2 separate regions of the Homo sapiens genome follow, and region 2 is linked to region 1. Evidence: promoter capture Hi-C in human tissues and cell types (Jung and others, 2019). All regions are on one chromosome and are shown on one strand. Each heading gives the region's core, a stretch centred on a gene start or on the middle of the fragment in contact. The rest is flanking DNA. Distances are from core to core; before and after follow the strand shown.

The links. The method cuts DNA at HindIII sites, captures the fragments that hold promoters and counts their contacts. A contact is called where the count stands out against the background at its distance.
Region 2: a fragment that was not itself captured here is called in contact with the fragment with the promoter of CCM2L in region 1 in 11 of the 25 tissues and cell types used here (IMR-90 fibroblasts, bladder, lymphoblastoid cells and 8 more).

What each region holds. Positions count from the first base shown.
Region 1 is chr20:32,007,072-32,012,570 of GRCh38, reverse strand. It overlaps CCM2L (CCM2 like scaffold protein), which reads right to left and starts at 2,133. Exons shown (of 10, transcript NM_001365692.1): 1 at 2,087-2,133. The coding sequence starts at 2,116. It also overlaps the pseudogene RNA5SP481. RefSeq lists enhancers at 282-873, 1,784-2,311. The HindIII fragment of the contact is 15,048 bases long and covers 1-5,499 here.
Region 2 is chr20:31,968,524-31,974,022 of GRCh38, reverse strand. It overlaps XKR7 (XK related 7), which reads right to left. Exons shown (of 3, transcript NM_001011718.2): 1 at 5,264-5,499. Among named protein-coding and RNA genes, the nearest start is that of XKR7, 3.1 kb to the right of the region's middle. RefSeq lists enhancers at 946-1,445, 1,446-1,947 and silencers at 1,563-1,857, 5,422-5,499. The HindIII fragment of the contact is 4,685 bases long and covers 1-4,352 here.

The DNA.
Region 1 (5,499 bases), core at 884-3,383:
AGTAGCCAGGATCTAAACCGGTGGTTCTCAAAGTGTGGCCCCACAGCCATCAGCATAACCTGTGGGTTATTAGAATTGCAAATTCTTTCTGACTCAGCGATCCTCCCACCTCTGCCTCACAGTAGCTAGGACCACAGGCATGCACCACCACCACACCTAGCTAATATATATTTTTTAAAGAGATGGGGTCTTACTATGTTGCCCAGTCTGGTCTTGAACTCCTAGGCTCATGCAATCCTCCTGCCTCAGCCTCCCAAAGTGTTGCGATTACAGGCGTGAGTCACTGTGCCTGGCCAGAAATGCAATTTCTTGAACCCCATCCCAGGCCTATTGGCCCAGAAACTGGGGGTAAGACCCAGTGATCTGTGTTTTAATGAGCCCTCAGGTGATTCTTATGGGTACTCAGCTTATGTTAGAACCCATATCATGGAGCCAGGATGGGGTATGTAGCAACTTTAAGGAATGAGAAGAAACTATCTGGGAGAAAGCATGCCAAGCAGAGGGCACAGCATGTGCAAAATTCTGGATGCCTCAAAGGCTGGATGAGGGTGAGCCTGGAGAAGCTGTGTGCAGTCAGTCTGCCGTGGCTAGATTATGAGACGAACATATCTTGAATGCCGGCTATGGAGCTGGGACTTTGTCTTGCGTATGTGTGTGTATTAGGGGTGGGGAGGGGTAAGTATTTTTGTTGGTGGCCCTGAATGGCTCAGCTCTGCCCACCTGTCCAGCCCCATCTGCCTCATTCTTGTCCCCTGGGCCCCCACTACACAGTCCTCCTTCAGTCCCTCTGGCTTGCTATGTGACTTCCCACTGTGGGGTTTTGCACATGCTGTTCCTCTGCCTCAAACACTCTTCCCTACCCACTTTCCTTCCACCCGTCAGTTCTCGACTCAAACTGATCAGTTTCCTCCAGCACTGAGTATGGGACCTCCTATGATTTTTAAAAAATTTTTATTTATGTATTTATTTATTTATTTTAGACAGAGTCTCACTCTGTCACCCAGGCTGGAGTGCAGTGGCGCGATCTTGGCTCACTGCAACCTCTGCCTCCTAGGTTCAAGCTTCAGCCTCCTTAGTAGCTGGGATTACAGGCATGTGCCACCATGCCCAGTTAATTTTTGTATTTTTAGTAGAGACAGGGTTTCGCCATGTTGGCCTGGCTGGTCTCGAACCCCTGACCTCAGGTGATCCACCCGCCTCGGCCTCCCAAAGTGCTAGAATTACAGGTGTGAGCCACTGCACCCGGCCCTTCTATGCAATTTTACATTAACTTATTTATTGCTTTAAAAAAAGAAATACCTGGTGCATAATAGGCACTCAATAAATGTCTATTAAAAGAACAAACTAAGAGAAAACATGCACGTATGTCTTGGCTCCCTTCTGAGCCCTCTGTGATTCATGTGGGCACCTTTTAGAACAGCCCGGACATATGTTTCTGGTGGGGGTGGGGTAGAGGGGAGGGTGGAAATGGGGGTAAGATGGAAGTTAAAATCAGAGCGCCTCCCTGAACTCCAAAGACAACCAGGTGAGACACCCAGAGAAGCATACTAGAAAACTTCAGAGTCAGAAGGGGTGAGGGGAATGGCTTCTGGCTGACGCCTTACATACGCCCTTGTAGAAAGGTGGGAGGGGCAGGGGGCAGGTGGGAGACTCAAGCCTGTGTAGGCAACATCCTATCGGAATTGCCCTGGCTGAGTCCTTCTGTTTGGGGCAGTGACGAGCAGGAGAATGGATCTGCTGGGTGTCTGTCTGTCCGTCTGTCTGAGAGGCTGCAGGAGGGAGCTGCGGGGAACACCAGGGAAGCAGGTGTGGAGAATCTCCCAAACTGAGTCCGTCTGGCCAGGTTTCCTGAGAAGGTCCCTGTCTGTCCACGTTAGGGATGCCAGAGGCCACTGAGAGTGGAGAAACAGGGAGTTTAGAGCCTGACTGTCTGGCTGTCCAAGAGTGGGAAGGAAGTTACTTCCAAATGAGAAGAAAGGCTCCACTTATGCCCCTCGCTACCGACCCCCCACCCCGCCCCAGTTTGCCCCCTTCCCCAGCTTTGGGGACATTCCTCTCCCTTCGTCCCTCCCAACCTCCCACCTACCTTCTTCCCTTTCTTGACTTCATATTCCATGGTGAAATGTCCCCTCTACTCCTGCCACCCTCCTGGCCATCCCTTCCACCCCCACATCCAGTTCCTTTGTTCTTTTTCCTGCCTGGTCGGAAACTCCACCAGCCCTGGAGTTCCTGCCCCTCCCATCTGATGGGGAGGGCAGGGGGTGTGGAGGACACAGCCTTGGGACCCTGCAGCTGAAGGGTGGAAGCCCAGGCAGAGCTGACCTGAGGAGGGAGGCTCAAGGCCTCTAGCCAGAAGGCGGGTTATTGGGGGAGCTTGGGAATTGGCCAAGGCTGGGAAAGGGCCCCCCACATTTGAAGTCCTGGTTTGGAAAATTCCAAGTTCCAGCCCTACTTCTGCCACTGACCTTGTTGTGTGACCTTGGCAAGGCAAGTCAGTTCCCCCTGTCACAGCCTGTTTCCCCCTCCTCTCTATAAGTTGGGAGTCAACACTGCCTCCCTCCCTAGGCTGCTGTGGTGAGAAATGAAAAGGTGGATGGAAAGTGCCTTATAGAGAGTATTGTAGCCAAGCAAGTTATGATTTTAAAAAATTAATCATTACTATTAAGGGAGGCAGTATGCGTGGGCTTTGAAGATAGGCTGCTTGAATTCGAATCCTGGCTTTGGCACTTACTAGGGTTATGACCTTTGGGAAGTCCCTTAACCACCAGTGCCTCAGTTTTCCCGTCTTTAAAATGAGCATAATACTAGTTTAACCTCATAGTGACCTTGCGGGGATTAAATGCACCTAGAAGAACTTCTGGCACATATTAAGTACTCAGTAAGGCTGGGCGTGGTGGCTCACACCTGTAATCCCAGCACTTTGAGAGGCTGAGGCAGGCAGATCACCTGAGGTGAGGAGTTCGAGACCAGCCTCGCCAACATGGTGAAACCTTGTCTCTACTAAAAATACAAAAATCAGCCGGGTGCGGTGGCACATGCCTGTAATCCCAGCTACTCTGGAGGCTGAGGCAGGAGAAGCGCTTGAACCTGGGTGGTGGAGGTTGCAGTGAGCTGAGATCCAGCCATTACACTCCAGCCTTGGTGACTGGCTGAGACTCCATCTCAAAAAAAAAAAAAAAAAAAAAAAAAACTGAAAAAAAATAAGTGCTCAGTAAACATTAACTGTTTACCTGCTTAGTGGTTGTCAAATTAAAGAACAAACAGAGGCTCTCTAAAATAAAAGATGTTTCACTTAGGAATTAAGCATTGCAGTGGGAATTACCCATATGCCATAGTAAGCGATGTGCATTTTCAGGGAGGTGGGGGGAAGACAAAGATTTTTAAAGGAAAAAAATAAGGATTACATTATTGTTTCTGAAATAATTATTCTTGATTGCAAAGATCAATAGCAAGGGTGATGCCAGTCTAAAGTTGGACAGGCAGTTGCTGGGCAGATGTCCTTGCGGAAGTATTTTTTGTGCAAGGTTTCAATGGCCTTTGTGCAAGGTTGTGATTTTTGTAGTCTTTTTTGTTATCAGTCTTGTTGTTATCTGTTTTGTTATCAGTCTTATTTGTTATGCAAGCATGAAAACCCTCTATGGCCTTCCCCAGCTCTATTTGTCAAGGTTTTCTTAACATTAGTGACTCCATTTTTATTCTGACCATGTTCATAGGGTCTTGAGCTGTTTTGCTCTCTTGGGAGTATATTAGGGAGGCAAGGTCCCCTTTGTGGCTCTGTGCTGAACACTTTACATATTTTAACTTACTCACAGTGTTGAGTACCATGATAGTACCTATTATACAGATTTTTGAAACTGAGGCTGAAGTTCAGAGCCTGGTTCAAGGAGGTCACACAGTGAGTAAGAGGAGGACCTGGGATTTCTGGCTGGTCTGGATCTGAGCCTAGCGTTCCTTACCTCTAGGACCTATGCATTCTGCATGCCCCACCCAGGACAGATGGAAAGGTTCTGTGTGGCCCATCCACACCTTGCCAAGACACCTGGGTTCTGGAGACCTAAGCTCTGGAACTGATTTGCTGTATATGACCTGGTCCAGGTTGCTCATTGTAACCTCTCTTGGCGTCAGCTTTCTTATCTCCCATCCAAGTACTAACCAGGCCCGACCCTGCTTAGCTTCCGAGATCAGACGAGATCGGTCAGCTTTCTTATCTTTCCAATGGGAATAATAATTTCCCAAAGCCCTGCTCTGCTCATCAGAGCTGTGGCCAGAAAGACACAGGCCATGGATGGAAGAGCAGTTAGAAACTGTAAAGTACCAATGCACTGGATTCTACTGAAAGGCTTTTTCTGAAAGCCTGGTGTTCAAGATCAGTGCCCTGAAGGGAGGGTCAGAGCTCCCCAACGCGCTTCTGGGTGTGAGAGCTACAGGAGACTCCTAGCCACTAGCCCTTCCTCTTCCTTCCCCTCCCTTGGAGGGGAAATGGCCCAGGTTGCTTAGTGCTGGCTCTCACAGCCACTCCCTCCTGCTCCCCTGCATCCTGCCGGGTCACCCCCCAGCTCAGGAAGTGAGATCTCCACTCAGCCTGCCAGGCGAACAGGAAGAGGCCAGGGTGTGCTAGCCAATTCCTGACTCTGCTCTGGATGTGAAAGCTCCAACTTAACCCCTTGAGCCAGCCCAGAATTCCCACCCTTGGAGCAGCAGCCGGGCATGAGACATGTGGTCTCTTGCTCTGGCATCTCCATGACTGGCTTTTGCAAGCCTTTTCCTCTCTCTGGGCCTCAATTTCCCTGTCTATAAAATGGAAGCTTATATTATTCCTGGACTAGCTCCAAACATCACTGAACTGCTGGGAATCTCAAATAGGACAATAAGTGTTTTGCATGCCACTAAAATTAGAAAACTATCTCTGTATTCCCTGCAGTGCTCCCTGCAGAGCCATAACAGATGAAGTGCTTAGTAAATGTCAGCGGAAGTGGTTGGAGATGGTGGATATAGGCTCAAATGTATATGACCTTGAACACATTACCTCATCTCTTAGCGCCTCAGAGCCCTCACGTGTCAAAAGCAGGATAATGGCAGTACCTGCCTTGGAAGGCTGCTGCAGGGATTGAATGGGAACAGAAGTGCACAATGATAACATATTATTAAAATTAGCTTGTGAATCAAAGAAGAGATGAGCAAAACAAAGTCCCTGCTCTCAAAGACTTAACAATTGTGGCAGATAGGATTCATCTCTTTTGAACCACCTCCAGTTGATTGGCAGGGGCTGCCTGGAGGGCTGCGTAGAGGATTATAAAAACCGGATCTACTCCCAGCAGGAAGAAGGGATTGATTATCAATGCCTGCCATGGGCAGGAGTGGGGATATTAGCAGCAGGTGGTCAGTGCACATGCTGACCATGATCTGGTTAGAGACAAAGACACACAAGCCAAGAACTCTGGTATCAGGCCAGCGACTTGTTTGGGAAAGGCAGAATCAGGAGCCATTCCCCAGGCCGGT
Region 2 (5,499 bases), core at 761-3,260, 38 kb after region 1:
CCGGCTTTCACCATGTTGGCCAGGATGGTCTCGATCTCTTGACCTCGTGATCCGCCTGCCTCGGCCTCCCAAAGTGCTGGGATTACAAGCGTGAGCCACTGTGCCCGGCCCCTCCAGTCTATTCCCCACCCAGCAGCCAGAGTGGACATTGCAAAACACAAGTCAAGATCATGTTCCTTCTCTGGCCAAATTATCCTGGGCTCCCCGTGTCATGAAGAGTAAAAGCCCTAGTCCTTGCCATGGCCTCTGAGGCCCTGCATGACCTCGCCCCTGCCAATCTGTCCACCAGCATCTCCAAACATGCTCCCCTCACTCTATTTCTGCCACACAGGCCTTCTCCTTGCCCTTCCCTTTTCCTTTGCCTGCAAAACCCTCCCCAAGACCTCTACACAGCTTGTCCTCACCTCGTGCAGCCCTTTGCCCACATGCCACCTCCTTGGAGAGGTCCACCCTGACCACCCTATCTCAAAGAGCCACACCTCTCCCTGGCACTCCAGTAGCTCCCTGCCCTGTTTCATTTTTTTCCCCATAGCACTTATCACGATCTGGCCCAGGTATTATATATCCCATATAATATATATCATAGTTTATTTTCTTATTGGTTCCTTCATTAGGCTATTGAGCTCCAAGAGGGCAAGGACTTTGTCTTGTTCACCACTCTATTCCCAGCACTTAGAACAGTGCCTGGTATACAGCAGGTGCTTAATAAATGTCTGCTGAATGAATGACTGCAGATTAAATGAATGACTGCCATGTCATTATGGCTTCAAGGGACTTCAGGACCCCCTTGCTGTCCTGCCATGTGCTCCGTGAACAAAGCTTTGTTCCACAGGGAGCAAAGCCCAAGCTAATGCACTAATCATTGCCAGCAGTTTCTGAGCATTTAACGATGGAATGAGCCCTTTGCTGAACCCTTACACATTATCTCATTAAACCTTGAAACAACCTAAGAGGCGGGTGGGTACAATTTTGGTCCCTAGTTTACAACGGATGAGAGATTATTTGCCTTGTCAAGGTCACATATAAGAAGTAGTAAAGTCTGGATTTAAACTGAGGACACTTGAATCTAGAGTCCGTGCTCTCAACCCTCTCAACCGTTATGCCAAGAATGTAGTTTCCCAGAGGGGAAATCCAGAGCCTGACATTTCCTTCCAATAGGTCACTAACTCATTCCAGAACTTCTCTGTCATGCAGGGCTTCTTAGGTGACATAGAGTGCAGTGTCTGGGCCTATGCATAGAGAGGGCATTAGAGGGAGGGCCCCTAAATCCCAATTGCCTAATTTTCTCCCCATTTTGGGGTTCCCAGATCCCGAAAGCCTGGCAGGAATCCCATGTCAGATCGTCTCCCACTAATTGGCTTAGCAAACCATGCTTATCTGGGTGAAGCTGGGGCCCACTGAGCTCAAGATTAGGAAAAGCAGGATTCATGGCTTACTGCTCTGCTGCCTACAGGGTCAGAGGGGACAGGGTTAGGACTTTAATTAGCTTAAGAACCCTGGGCAGTTTAACAGCTCAGAGAGTTTAAAGGGAAGGGAGGGATGAAGTTGCAGGTTGGTGTCCAGGCCACAGCCAGCTTCGTGCCCCGCCAGAGGATCTGTTTGCTGTTCCCTCAGAGTTCAATCTCTCTGTGCACAAAGATATTGTTCTGGCATGTCCCAAAGTAGCCAGTGTGTGGTGTAAAAGATAGAGCTAGGTTTGGGACTGATCACCTTTCCTCACTTCCTCAGTGGGTGACTTTTGGACAAGGTTCCTTATCTGATAAATGGGTATATCAATAGTCACCAGGGGGGAGGGTTTCAGAGTAACATGAGATCACATGCCTGAAACACTCACACAGGGCCTGTGGGGACACGGTAGGTGTGCAGTGTCTGTGTATGCTTTCTCCTCCTCTCTCTCTTCAGAGCTTCATTTTATGTTTAAATTAGTAATAAAATCTTCTGTGTGAAAAGACCTTATCAATTTGAAGAGCTAAACCAGAGGTTACAAAGAAGACAGGCTAATAAATATGTTTCCTTTGGTTGACACTATTTTTAAACATTTTAATTAGTAGTTAAATTTTGGAGAGTTCACGGAAAAATCCCAATTTCCCATTTCTCTTGAGAAATCAAGACTGGGTCCACGATTTCTCATGGCATGATCAGCTGGAGCTTCCCTTTTCCTCGGACACTACTTGCCCCTGAATGTCCTCTTGTCTGACACCCCTTGTATCTTATGGTCTTATGGTCTGTTACCTGCCTGGGTCCTCAAAGCATTTGAATTTTTAATTCAGGATTTTACAAGTCTAAGAGGTTGAAAAATATCTTCATGATTATAATTATTTTATTCAGAATTGAGGAAATGGGATCAGGAGGTGAGTGACTGCCTAGCCTCCCAGGTGTGATTCTGGAGGACTCAATCACACATCTCCCTCTTCATTACCCCAGGCCCCACCACTCAGAACATCTGTGGGAACATCTCACGTGGTAAGCAAATGTGCTGGGCCAACATTGCTTAATTTCTAGGAATGCCAGCCCCTGCAGCTTCTCTATACCTTCTCTGGGTTTTCCCTCCATTTATCCAGGCCCTTAGCCATTTTAGAATCCAAAGATTTTGGGGGCAAGGGCCCAGAGGCTTTTGCTTTGGCAATAGACCCAGAGTCAGAATTTCAGGAATGGGAAACTCTTAAGGTCATCACATTGAATCTCATTTCACACACAGGGAAACCGAGACCCAAAGATGGAAAGAGCCTTGCCCAAGGTCACCCAGCAAACTATAGTTACAAACTAGGATAAAGATGTCAGCCTCCTGACCAGACCACCCCCGAATCCAGCCTTTTCCCCACAATACACACTGTTCCCGTCCTCACCCACATAGTTCAACTCCCTGCCCCTCTTTTCACATTCTTATCTCAGTGCAACAGAAGCCCTGACTTTCTATCATACTGGAATCTTGGAATCTCAGATTCATACTTCTTTAAGCTTGAGGGACACTTTAGTGGCAGAATTACAAGGTGGATAAATTGAACTCAGGCTTTAAAGGCAGAGAGCCTGGAGTCTCAGCTCTTCAAGTTCCTAGCTGTGTGACCTTGGACAAGGATGCCCCCTCTCTGAGCCTCCATTCCCTCATCTGTCAAGTAGAAATTATAATGCTAACCACATGACAGGATGATTAGAAGGGGTACAGGAAATAAAGCAGGTAAAAAGGCAACCAGTAGGCTTGGCACAAAGTCAGTGTTTAATAAAATAATTGTTATAGAACTGTAAATTAGGGCTTTCATGTCTAAGTGAAATAGTACAGATATGATCAAAGGGAAAGATGGACAAATTAGAGCACATAGACTCTTTCTAAATTGTTACAGGATTGATACTGCTAGATCCAATTTTTTTAAAGGGAAGCTACGACTCTGGGTTTTTAAAATACTATGCAAGCCACACAAAACACTTCCACAAGCCACATTCAACCTAAGAGCTATTAGATTGTTATCCCTACAAACTTATCTCATCCCAGCCTCCTCATTTTGCAAATGGGAGATAGTAGAAATAGCTAGTCCTTTTATCCATATCCAAGAAACCATAGAGCTGAGGGGATCCTTAGCAATTCTAGCTACTCCCCTGGGACCCCACACCCATGGCCATTTTTGCCCTATTTGAGGGAAACTCAGTTTATGCTTAACAAAGAAGAGAAGTATTAGTTTCTTGTAAGTGGATTCTGAATGGGGGGATAGCCAGTGAGTCGAGGGGCATCTGGCCCACTTTAGGCTGAAGGAAAAGGGGGATGAAGCTTCCTACCAAGAATAGGAAGTTACCATTTCAGAATCTAAAAATATCTTTCACCATCTGTCCACTCGGGCACAGAATGATAAATGCAGATTAGTTCCTGGATGTAGACATGAATATTTTTATGTGTCACGCTAATAATAATAACACCACCTTGTGTGGATAGAGCTCCGCCCCCTTTTCCTCCAGGATAAGCTAAGTGGAATATACACATCATCTTGGCAGGAATAGATAGGGAAACAAAGGCAGAGAGATTCGACAACACAACAAGAGTGACACAGCAAGTGAGCAGCTGGGACAAACCCTAGGAGTCCTGTTTTCAACCCTCAGCCCCAAACTGAATCTTCTGAGTTAGGCAGAATGTGTTAACAAGTAGCAGAATAAATATAACAACAGCAGTAATCACCCTTTATATCTCTAGAGTGACTTTTTCCATGCTTTCCCCACACTCTTAAAATGTTACAGTCTGCAGGGCCCTCATGCAGACCTCTCACCTGACCATCCCAACAGGTAAGAATAATGCAATGATAAGACAATGAGATAAGAGGAGTAGGGATTCTCCCTCATTTCACAGAAGAGGAAACTGAGGCTTGGAAGGAGGAGGGCGGCTTGCCTAAGATCATATAGTAAGCAAGTTCATTCTGTTAGAGCACAGAAGGGCCTAAGCTACTAAATAGCAATTCAGATTCAAGAGGAGCCCTAGGTTTAGAATTCCTCCTCTCTCCACTTAACTCAGTGCAGCAGGCACCCTCAGTTCTGGCAGAGGAAGAAGACTGAAAGTGGGCAGCTTGAACAAAGCCTCAGTTTTGCCTTACCAGTTCGGGATTAAAGGGCAGCCAGTGGCCATCTAATCTCAGATTCAAGATTCCAAATCCCCTTGGCCCTGTTGGAAGGGGAGGACCCTTAGCTGGGGGAGAGGGGGTCATAGGAAGTAGAAGGAGCCTGAGGGCTCCCCAGTTGGGTCCAGCATATCTTTCTCCAAAAAGTCCAAGAAGTTTAGGCGGGATATTCATTTAGCTGTCTCAAATTCTGTGACTCTCCTTGCAGGTTGTGAATGAGCTGCAATTCTGAACTGAGGATCTTTGCGAGCAGGAAAGGACTTCTGAGATCTTTCCTGAGCCCAGGCTTGGCACTCAGGCAGAGAGGAGTGGGTTATGGCAGAATAGGGCCCTGTGGTCCTGTTTTAAGCTTCACATTTATCTTCATGAGCCCCGGGTCCTCCCCACTCACGCACACCCCTGAGGATCTCTTTCTCTCCTTTCTTGAACCATCCCCTCCCCTCTCGAAGGCCAGGTCAGACCGGATGGCACTGGGGTTGGTCAGGGCTTGGGGGCAGAGGTCAGGGAGAAGCCGACTGAGAAGAAATTAGAGCTGCAATGGGGTGGGGAGGGGGGGAGGTCAGGACAGGAGGGTAGCCCGGAAAGGTCAGATCAGGGCTGGGACGTCAGGTAGCCCTTCGCCACCCCCACTCCTCGGGCTCAGGTCCCTCCACCTGCGCTTCTCCTACCTCCAGACCTGGCCGAGCTGCAGGAGGTGGACGAGGGTCTGCAGCAGCCAGATGCAGAGGCGGCAGCAGCGGCGGCGGTAGGCGCTGGCCGAGGAGGGCGCAGGCTGGGGACCCGGCTCGGGGCTGCCTTCTTTGGTCCGGAAGGCGCCGGCGCTGTCCTTGGTGCTGATGGCGGCTCCGCCGGCTACGCTGTCCTTGGTGCTGACGGCGGGTCCCGGGGACCCTGCGGGCTCCGA